Regions from separate parts of the Homo sapiens genome. Here region 2 is linked to region 1. The links are contacts of gene promoters, found by promoter capture Hi-C in blood cells and fetal thymus (Javierre and others, 2016). All regions are on one chromosome and are shown on one strand. Each heading gives the region's core, a stretch centred on a gene start or on the middle of the fragment in contact. The rest is flanking DNA. Distances are from core to core; before and after follow the strand shown.

Evidence for each region. Contacts are between HindIII fragments. The CHiCAGO score rates a contact against its expected background, and 5 or more counts as called.
Region 2: a contact is called between a fragment that was not itself captured here and the fragment with the promoter of DHX57 in region 1, in 1 of 17 cell types (M2 macrophages). The highest score is 9.2, in M2 macrophages.

What each region holds. Positions count from the first base shown.
Region 1 is chr2:38,873,985-38,878,734 of GRCh38, reverse strand. It overlaps DHX57 (DExH-box helicase 57), which reads left to right and starts at 2,801. Exons shown (of 24, transcript NM_198963.3): 1 at 2,801-2,948. MORN2 (MORN repeat containing 2) reads right to left here and starts at 2,759. Exons shown (of 5, transcript NM_001145450.3): 1 at 2,625-2,759. The coding sequence starts at 2,682. RefSeq lists an enhancer at 2,608-3,592. The HindIII fragment of the contact is 7,829 bases long and covers 1-4,750 here.
Region 2 is chr2:39,006,075-39,010,824 of GRCh38, reverse strand. SOS1 (SOS Ras/Rac guanine nucleotide exchange factor 1) reads left to right here. Exons shown (of 23, transcript NM_005633.4): 15 at 122-241; 16 at 3,632-3,794; 17 at 4,296-4,413. Among named protein-coding and RNA genes, the nearest start is that of SOS1, 110 kb to the left of the region's middle. The HindIII fragment of the contact is 1,260 bases long and covers 1,195-2,454 here.

The DNA.
Region 1 (4,750 bases), core at 1,552-4,051:
AGGAACAGGTGATTACAAAAAACAAAAAACAATTAGCAATCCAGGAAATGAATAATATAATTGGTGAAATAAAACTTCTTAGAAGGGATGAAAAGCAGAATAGATACAATTGAAAACAAATTAGTGAACTGGAACATTAGGTTGAAAAATGTGCTTAGAAAGTAGCACAAAGTGTGAGTGAGATGGCTGGAAAAAAAATTTTTTAATTAAAAAAAAAGAAAGTAGCACAAAGAATTTTAAAATGATGGAAAGTGGATCCAAAAGGCTACTGTCAGTCTAATAAGAATTCCAGAGGGAAAGAATAAGGGATATTTGAATAAATAGCCAAATTTTTCTCAGAACTGAAGAAAATGACTGCTTGGACTACAAATGGGAACTAAGCAAAATCCCACACCTAGACAGGTTACAGTACAATTTCATGACATAAAGACCAAAGGCCAGCTAGGCTAGTTAAAAACAAGCAAACAAAAACCAGATTACCTACAATAAACTACAAAGGACTGACATTAGCAACAGTGGATTCTAAAAAAAAATGGCACTATGTCTTTAAAATTCCGAGACAAAATTATTTTCAACCTAATATTCTACATCCAACGAAACTATCAATCTAAAATCATGGAAACTGGCAGGCACGCTGGTAGGATGAATTACTGGCTCATGCCTGGAATCCCAGCACTTCGGGAGGCTGAGGAGGGTGGGTTGCTTGAGCCTAGGAGTTCGAGACCAGCCTGGGCAACATGGTGAAACCCATTCTCCACAAAAAATACAAGAATTAGCTGGGTGTGGTGTTGCATGCTTGTTGTCCATGCTACTTGGGGGCTGAGGTGGGAGGATCGCTTGAGCCCAGGAAGTGAAGGCTGCAGTGAGTCCGATCACACCCTGCCCTCCAGCCTGGGTGAGACAGCAAGACTCTGTCTTAAAAAAATAATAAAATAAAAAAAATTAAGTTTTAAAAATAGAATCTGGTGGCTCATGCCTGTAATCCCAACGCTTTGGGTGGGTGAGGTGGGAGGACTGCTTGAGCCCAGGAGTTTGAGACCAGCCTGGGCAACATAGTGAGATTCCATCTACACCAAAATTAAAAACTCAAAAAGAAAAAAAAAGAATCTGTAACTAAAACTCAGGTAATATCAATATGGAAATGGTGTGGAGGATAGAGAGCAATCTTGCTAGAATTCTGATCTCGTTTAGGGGTTAAATATAGACACTAATTAACACTAAATCTTAGAAAAATCTGAATTTAGTTATGTTTGCTTATTTTTTCCCCATAATTTCTAAGATTTGGTTGTGGATAAAGGGTGAAGTATGGTGGTATACAGAAATTGCCATGTGTGCTCATTAATTAGTTATTTACATGTCTGCAAGATGTGAAATTCCAAGAGAGCAGGGACACAGAGCTACTTTCTTTCTTTTTTATTTTTTAATTTAATTTAATTTAATTTAATTTATTTATTTATTTATTTATTTTTGAGACGGAGTCTCGCTCTGTCGCCCAGGCTGGAGTGCAGTGGCTTGATCTCGTCTCACTGCAACCTCCGCCTCCCGGGTTCACGCCATTCTCCTGCCTCAGCCTCCCAAGTAGCTGGAACTACAGGCGTCAGAGCTACTTTCTAAGTGTTTAACTAATGATAACTAACTAGATTACCAGATCTGCTTGTAGTTTCCCACAGATGCCATGCCGTACTCTGGGTGGAACACCCTTCTCTTCTTTACCTGGTTAACTGCTATTCATCCTCAAGAGTTGGCAAAATAGAGTGTAGTAGTTAGGGGTTCATGCTCTGGCATCGGACTACCTACCTTTGCATCCAGACTCCACCATTTTCTCTGACCTTGGACAAATAATTATCTTATGCCTCAGTTTCCTCATCCTTAGATGGGGCAAATCAAGTAAATGAGCTAATCTAGTTAAAGCACTTAGCCCAGTGTCTAAACTCTGTAAATATTAGCTATTGTATTCTTGTAGCCCCAGCTCAGGTATGAGCTCTCCCACAAAGCCTTTCTTCTCATTACTTGTCAACCTCAGACTCCTTCAGGAACCCCCACGGCACTCTGGGCCTATTCCTACTGTAGTACTTAAGGTTCTATTAAAACCATGCTTTTGTATCGGGATCCCCTATCCCACCCAGTTCCTCCAGGACACGGATGGCAGATTAGTCAAATCTCTTCTCACCCCACTGTCCGACTCCGTGTTTAGTACTAATAGTAACAGAACGTCTAGTGAATGAAGGGCACTTCGGAAGGAATCGTTAAGTGCCTATGAAGCAGAGCATTAAACGTAATCATATCAGAAACTGGACTGTTTTCAATTGCCGCTAAAATGTTCTACATTCGAAACTTGGGAACGTCAGAGCTAGAGGGAACCTCACAGAGACCACCCGGCACCATAGCGGAAACTGAGGCCCAGGGAGGTTGGCACGCGCCTCGGGTGTCTCAACAGCGAATTAACAACAGAATCAGAGCTAGATTCCCAGACCAGGGGTTCCCCCGTGCCCCTCGGCTAGACGGTCAGGAAATATATCACACCCCCACAGGAGTTACCGGGAGCCAAGCAGGTTCTGACTCCACGCTAGTTCGACTTAAAGGAGCTCTTCTCTGCCCGGGTCGTTAGGAGGAGGGACACTCACTTGGCCGAGAGGTGTTAGAGAGATCTTCCAAACTCTGCGACTCCCCCTGGGCGGCCAGCTCTGCGGCCGGGAGAGAACTAGGCGCTAGGACAGCTCCAGGTGCGACTTGGTTGCTGGGGCGACCGGGCACCTCTCACCCGGAAGCGAATACGCGAGGGGCTGTAGCTGAGCCAATCAGAAGGCGCCGGGACTGTGCCGCTGCAGCTGGGCCACCGCAGGGCTGCTCCAAGTGAGAATCGTGAGGGTGGCCAAGTCCAGTTTGGACCTCTGACCCTTGGGCAGCACCTCCCGACAGCCGGCTCGGGACCCAACTCTGCGAGCCAGGTACGTCTTCCACTTCTGCGGACAAGTGATGCGCGTTGTGCGCACGGTGTGCGCGTCACCCTGTTTGTCAGTGTGTCTGCCGCCTCCTGCTCCAGGAGTGGTCGGGATCTGACGAGCATCGCGGCCCAGTGTGTTTCATCCAGTCTGCCTGGGGCCGGTGAATCTGGACCAGCAGGATCCCAGGCCCTGATACCGAACCAAGGCGGGCTCTGCCGCTGAGGTTGTCCACGCTCAAACTGCAGGTTGGGGCCGGGGGGGGCGGGGCGTGAAATTCAGTCTTGGAGCAGGCTAAGGGGTTGATTGAAGGGATCAGGCTCCGTTCTCTGACTCCGTCTGTGTGGCTTTTTTGGGGAGAAGGGTGGGGACGATGTGAGTTCGAAAAAGGATACGAGATCTGGATATCTGGATGGAGCTGGATATATTGTGATCAGTCAGAGATCTGCCTGGGAGGAGAGTAGTGTGTAGTCACTTTTCAGTGCCTTGGCTATCAAACAAAGAATACTCTTACAGCCAAACTTAGGTCCCTGTATCCATGGTGAAGAAAGATAGTTGGAGTCTTCCCGGGCTAGATGGAATAGATAGTGGAATCTAACCACGTGGATTATACAACCTAATTCCTATTCCCTTGAAAACTCTGGGAGAGTGGTATTGGACACCATTACAGTCAGTAAATCTTCGTTTAAAATGTTAAGCGCATATCTCAGATCTAGTTGTAAAAGTAACATTTTCTGGGTTGGTGTGAGACAACTTGTTTTGATTCAGCGTAAGTATCCTCTTGCTTTTTCCTAATGTTTCTCAGTACACAAATTTACCTGGGCTGCATGGTTTTTGAGATGAAGTTCTAATCTAACTGATTTGTTATTTCATTTCCCTAAATTTTAGAAATAATAGGTAATTATTGGTGCACAACCTTACAGAATTCAGTTTGACCTGTTATTTTTCTTGCCTGTTAAGATTTTAATGACTCTACATTTTTGTGAGTAAAGTTGACGTTTGAACAACATGGGTATGAACTACCCGGCTCCACTTACAGGTGGATTTTTCCCAACCCAACACAGATTGAAAATACAGTATTTCAGGTCGGGCGCGGTGGCTCACGCCTGTAATCCCAGCACTGTGGGAGGCCGAGGCGGGCGGATCACGAGGTCAGGAGATCGAGACCATCCTGGCTAACACGGTGAAACCCTGTCTCTACTAAAAATACAAAAAATTAGCCGGGCATGGTGGCGGGTGCCTGTAGTCCCAGCTACTCAGGAGGCTGAGGCAGGAGAATGGCGTGAACCCGGGAGGTGGAGGTTGCAGTGAGCTGAGACTGCGCCAGTGCACTCCAGCCTGGGCGACAGAGTGAGACTCTGTCTCAAAAAAAAAAAAAAAAAAAAAAAAAATACAGTATTTCAACTAGGCACAGTGGCTCATGCCGGTAATCTCAGCACTTTGGGAGGCCAAGGTGAGACGATTGCTTGAGCTCAGGAGTACGAGACCAGCTTGGGCAGCAAAGCGAAACCTCATTTCTACTAAAAAATGTTTAAAGTAGCTGGGTGTGGTGGTGCACCTGTGGTCCCAGCTATTCAGGAGGCTGAGGCAGGAGGATTGCTTGAGCCTAGGAGATCGAGGCTGCAGTAAGCTATGATCGTACCACTGCACTGCAGCCTGGGTGATAGAGCAAGATCCAGTCTCAAAAAAAAAGAAAGAAAGAAAAAAGAAAAGACAGTATTCCTGGAATGCAAAACCCACATACAGAGGGCCAACTTTTCCTCTATGCAGGTTCTACAGGGCTGACTGGAGAACTTGAGTATCCGTGG
Region 2 (4,750 bases), core at 575-3,074, 130 kb before region 1:
TGTTGGTATAAGAGGAAAGTTCATATGAGAGTTTAGTTTTTATTTGTCTCCTTTACTTAATAAAACAATGTCTATATTAGAGAAAAAAGTGTCATGTAGAATTATGTATTGATGATTTTAGAGCTGTACAGCCATCAGAATTAGTTGGAAGTGTGTGGACAAAAGAAGACAAAGAAATTAACTCTCCTAATCTTCTGAAAATGATTCGACATACCACCAACCTCACTCTGTGGTTTGAGAAGTAAGTATTCCTAGCATTCTTATATTTTATAGCTGTCAGCTATGTTATGAATTTCAATGCAATTTTTTTGTTTGTTTTTTTTGAGACGGAGTTTTGCTCTGTCACATAGGCTGGAGTGCAGTGGCACATCGGCCCACTGAAACCTCCACCTCCCAGGCTCAAGCGATCCTCCCACCTCAGCCTCCAGAGTAACCAGGATTACAAGTGTGTGATATCACACTCACCTAATTTTAATTTTCTTTCTTTCTTTTTCTTTTTTTTTTTTTTTGAGACAGAGTCTGGCTCTGTTGCCCAGGCTGGAGTGCAGTGGTGTGATCTCAGCTCACTGCAACCTCCACCTTCCGGGTTCAAGCAATTCTCAGGCCTCAGCCTCCTGAGTAGCTGCAACTACAGACGCACACCACCACACCCAGCTAATTTTAGTATTTTTAGTAGAGATGGGGTTTCATCACATTGGCCAGGCTGGTCTTGAACTCCTGACCTCAAGTGATCCACCCCTCTTGGCCTCCCAAAGTGCTGGGATTACAGGCGTGAGCCATCGCTCCTGACCAATGCAATTTTATTTCTATATGTCTCATGTCTTTTTCCTCTATTCCTCCTTTCTTTTGCATTGAGTGTTGATGAAAATGATAATATTTGTCATTAGAAAATATTGAATGTTTTTCTAATGTAGCATTAATTTTTTTCATTAACTTTTTTTGAGGTCCTTTTAGTGGTTGCCTGGTTGCCTTACAGTTTACCCTACACATCTTATCAGAATCAGCTTCAGACTTATAGTAGCTTAATACCAGTGACATATGAAATATTACTCCTATGTAGCTCTATTCCCTTTCTCCCTTTTTTTTGTGGTACTGTAATACATATTACATCTTATTAATGATGCAAATCAAACAATACATTGTTAACAGTTATTACTTTACCATTTGTCATCATCCTCTTAGCCCATTAAAGCTTTGCTCTCACCCACCTTCTTTGTGTATTATTGGCAACATATTACAAATATATTACATTTCTATGTCAATAAATTCAACAATGTTTATATTATTTTATACAGTTGTTTAAGTCAGTTATGAGAAGAAATGAGAAAAAAATACGCATTTACAAAATGTCTTTAATAATTACACAATTACCTTTACTGATGGTCTTTGTGTGGATTCGAATTACCATCTGGGATCACTTGCTTTTCAGCCTGAAGAACTTCCTTTAGTATTTCTTCTGGAGGGTGGGCTAGCAACAAATTCTCTCAGTTTTTGTTTATCTGGGAAAATCTTTATTTTACCTTCGTTTTTGAACAATGGCTCTATCTTCAAGTTAATATTTTTTTTTTCAGTTCAAATATACTATTGAGCTTATCCAGTAAGTTTTTTATTTCAGTTATTGTACTTTTTAATTCCAGAATTTCCCTTTGGTTCCTTTTTATAGTTTCTATCTCTTTAATGATATCCTCTCTTCGATGCACATTGTCATCAATACCTTCCTTTCCTTCTTTTTCATGCTTTCCTTTAATTCCGTGACCGTATTCATAATGGCTACTTAGAAATCTTTTTTGTTACTGTTGTTAAATCTGACATTTGGTTGCTCTCACAGGCAGTTTCTGTTCCTTCCACCCCCTCCGCCCCACCCCCACCCCTTGTAAGAGTCATACTTTCCTATTGGTTTGCATACCTCATCTGTTTTTGCTGGAAACCTGACATTTCAGATAATATAGTGTAGCAACTCTGAGTACTGCTCCTCCTTCCCCAGCCCCCTTTCCAGGGCTTCTTATTGCATGGCAGTGGTACTGGAAAGACTCATCCACTCCTTACCTGACCACACACACCCAGCTATGAAACTCCACAATTTGCCAGCTGATTGCTCTGATGTTTTCAACAATTTTCTGGTGGCATAAATGCTATACAAAATAATGCAATCAAATTGTGGCTCCTTTGAAGGAATGGTTTCTGAGATTTCTGTTTGATACTTGTTCTGACCCCAGGAGGGCTCCTCTCAGCCGTCTTATTTCCTAGTTGTCTCCTGCAAACTACTCTGCCTACAGTCTAGGGTGTATCTTCATTAGATCCACAAATCTCTTCCCCATTGCCTTTCACCACAATTTCCACTGTTCCTAAGGGCACCATTAAATTTAAACTACTTTATACTTTGTTGCAAATGACAAGAAATTAGGAGCTATCTGTTTGAAACAGGGCTCTGGGGCTGGGCAACAATGGCAAGCTTTTCTCTGAGTGACACTTCTGCCCTAGGAGCTAAGTGCTTGGTTGAGCAGGTAGAGTGGCAGACGGATGCTACTGCAGCCTGAGGTCTTCTTACCCGCCTCTTCTGGCATGGAACCACGCCCTCAGGAACCAGAGGAAGGGCTCTTTTCTCAGTATGCTCAAAACATCACACCCAAGGTAGCGTCTCCATTCCATAAGTGGAAGTTGGGCAAAAAAGGGTATTCCTACTTCTCAGCTGCACTCAACTGGGACTTGGCCTCAGCAACAGGCAGCAGGGACAGGATGAGAAAACTGAAGTCCTGCTCCTGCACCTCACCGGGAGCTAGGTGTTCTTGACTGCAGGAATCTGGAGTAGATGCTCAGTTCACCCTCACTGAGCTGGGAGAAAGAAGGGAGGGACCAGTCTTGGTTCAAATACCACAGACTCTCTCCCCTCTCTTACCAAATTTTTGTAGATTTTCCTGAATAGATGTTTCTTTTGCCATTTGCTCTCAGGGCCATTACTAGAGACTTTAAATGTGTGTGTGTGCGTGTGCATGTGTGTGTTTGTGTGTATGTGTGTTTTAATAATTTTTACCAGTTTCACTCAGTGAAGCTCCTCATACTATCATACCACAAGTCCAGAATCTCAATGCAATTATATATTAGGTTGGTGCAAAAGTAATTGCAGTTTTTGCCATTACATTTAATGCTGTTCGTAGAAATGTAGGAAACATAGGAACAGAGCTGTTCCTAGAAATGTATGTAGCCAATAATATATGAAAGAAAGAAATTGAGCATTAATCACTAAAATCTTGCAATTAGATGAAGAATAGAACACAACAGAATTCTTGAATTCTACTAGAATACACCCACATCACAAAGACCTCACAAAGACCTCCATACATTCCACAAGATAGTGGCCTCACCAGTTAATTCTGATGCTAATAGAGGATGCACCAAATATAGTAGGAAAATGATTGTTTGACTGTACCAGTCTAGAAGACGGGAAAGAGCAGTATGCCTGACTGGAGGCACTGCCTTCCTTCTATCAGTCACCCTGAATGTGTCTTCTCTATAGTAGTTATACTATCGCCACCCCCCTACTCTCTACATTATTTTATTTACTAAATTCTTTAAGCTATAACTTTATTGGAAAAACTCTAAAACCTTTAGTTCACTTTTTTTTTATTCCCAGATGTATTGTAGAAACTGAAAATTTAGAAGAAAGAGTAGCTGTGGTGAGTCGAATTATTGAGATTCTACAAGTCTTTCAAGAGTTGAACAACTTTAATGGTGTCCTTGAGGTTGTCAGTGCTATGAATTCATCACCTGTTTACAGACTAGACCACACATTTGAGGTAGGTTTCTACATGTGTTTTTAAAATGAACTTTCATTCCCTATTAGAAAAATTAGATTTTTAACAATTATTATCTTTAATTTTTAAATGTCTCATTTGTCTTTTCAGTAGTAGATTAAAAGACTGAATTATCTAAGTTTTGTAATGAATTGGTTGCTTTTTAAAATTTAAGCATTCCTATTAAAATGTATTCACAGGTCCCAGCCTAAGCTAGAAGAAAAAACTTTCGGCACTTAATTTGTAAGATAATGTACAGTTAAATGTTCACATAATTGTGTAAGGAATGACATGATAAACTAGATCTCTCTCACACACACACATACTTTAAGTTTATACTGAGGTCTATGAAGATAATTTATTTGAAGCAATATTTGAAGCAATGTTACAGTCATAAAATCAAATTGATACTGTTGTATTTGGGCGTTTCTGTTAGCCTAGTATTTTTTTTGACAAGACCTTTGATTCCTTTTGTAAACTTACGCCTATTTTTTTTCCTTATAGCAAATACCAAGTCGCCAGAAGAAAATTTTAGAAGAAGCTCATGAATTGAGTGAAGATCACTATAAGAAATATTTGGCAAAACTCAGGTCTATTAATCCACCATGTGTGCCTTTCTTTGGTAAGTATTTCTTTCTGAATTTTTATTGCATTTCTGGATAAAACAAAACACTCATTTCATTAAATGACTGAATAATTACATGTGTAATATGCCAGCAGAAAATACTTGTTTGATCAATATTTAGCACCTGAAGCCCTTTAGAATTTTTCTCATTAAGACTTAAGGTGAAGTCTAATATACATTTCATTTTCTATTTTCATCTTAGGCAGCCATTAGATATTATTTAATACTTGTGTTTTTATATTTATAAAAGCCTTTTTAATTGCATTTTAATAAACTAAATACAGCAGAGGCATAGCCAAACTCAACTATATTTATAATCATTTTTGTAAACAGT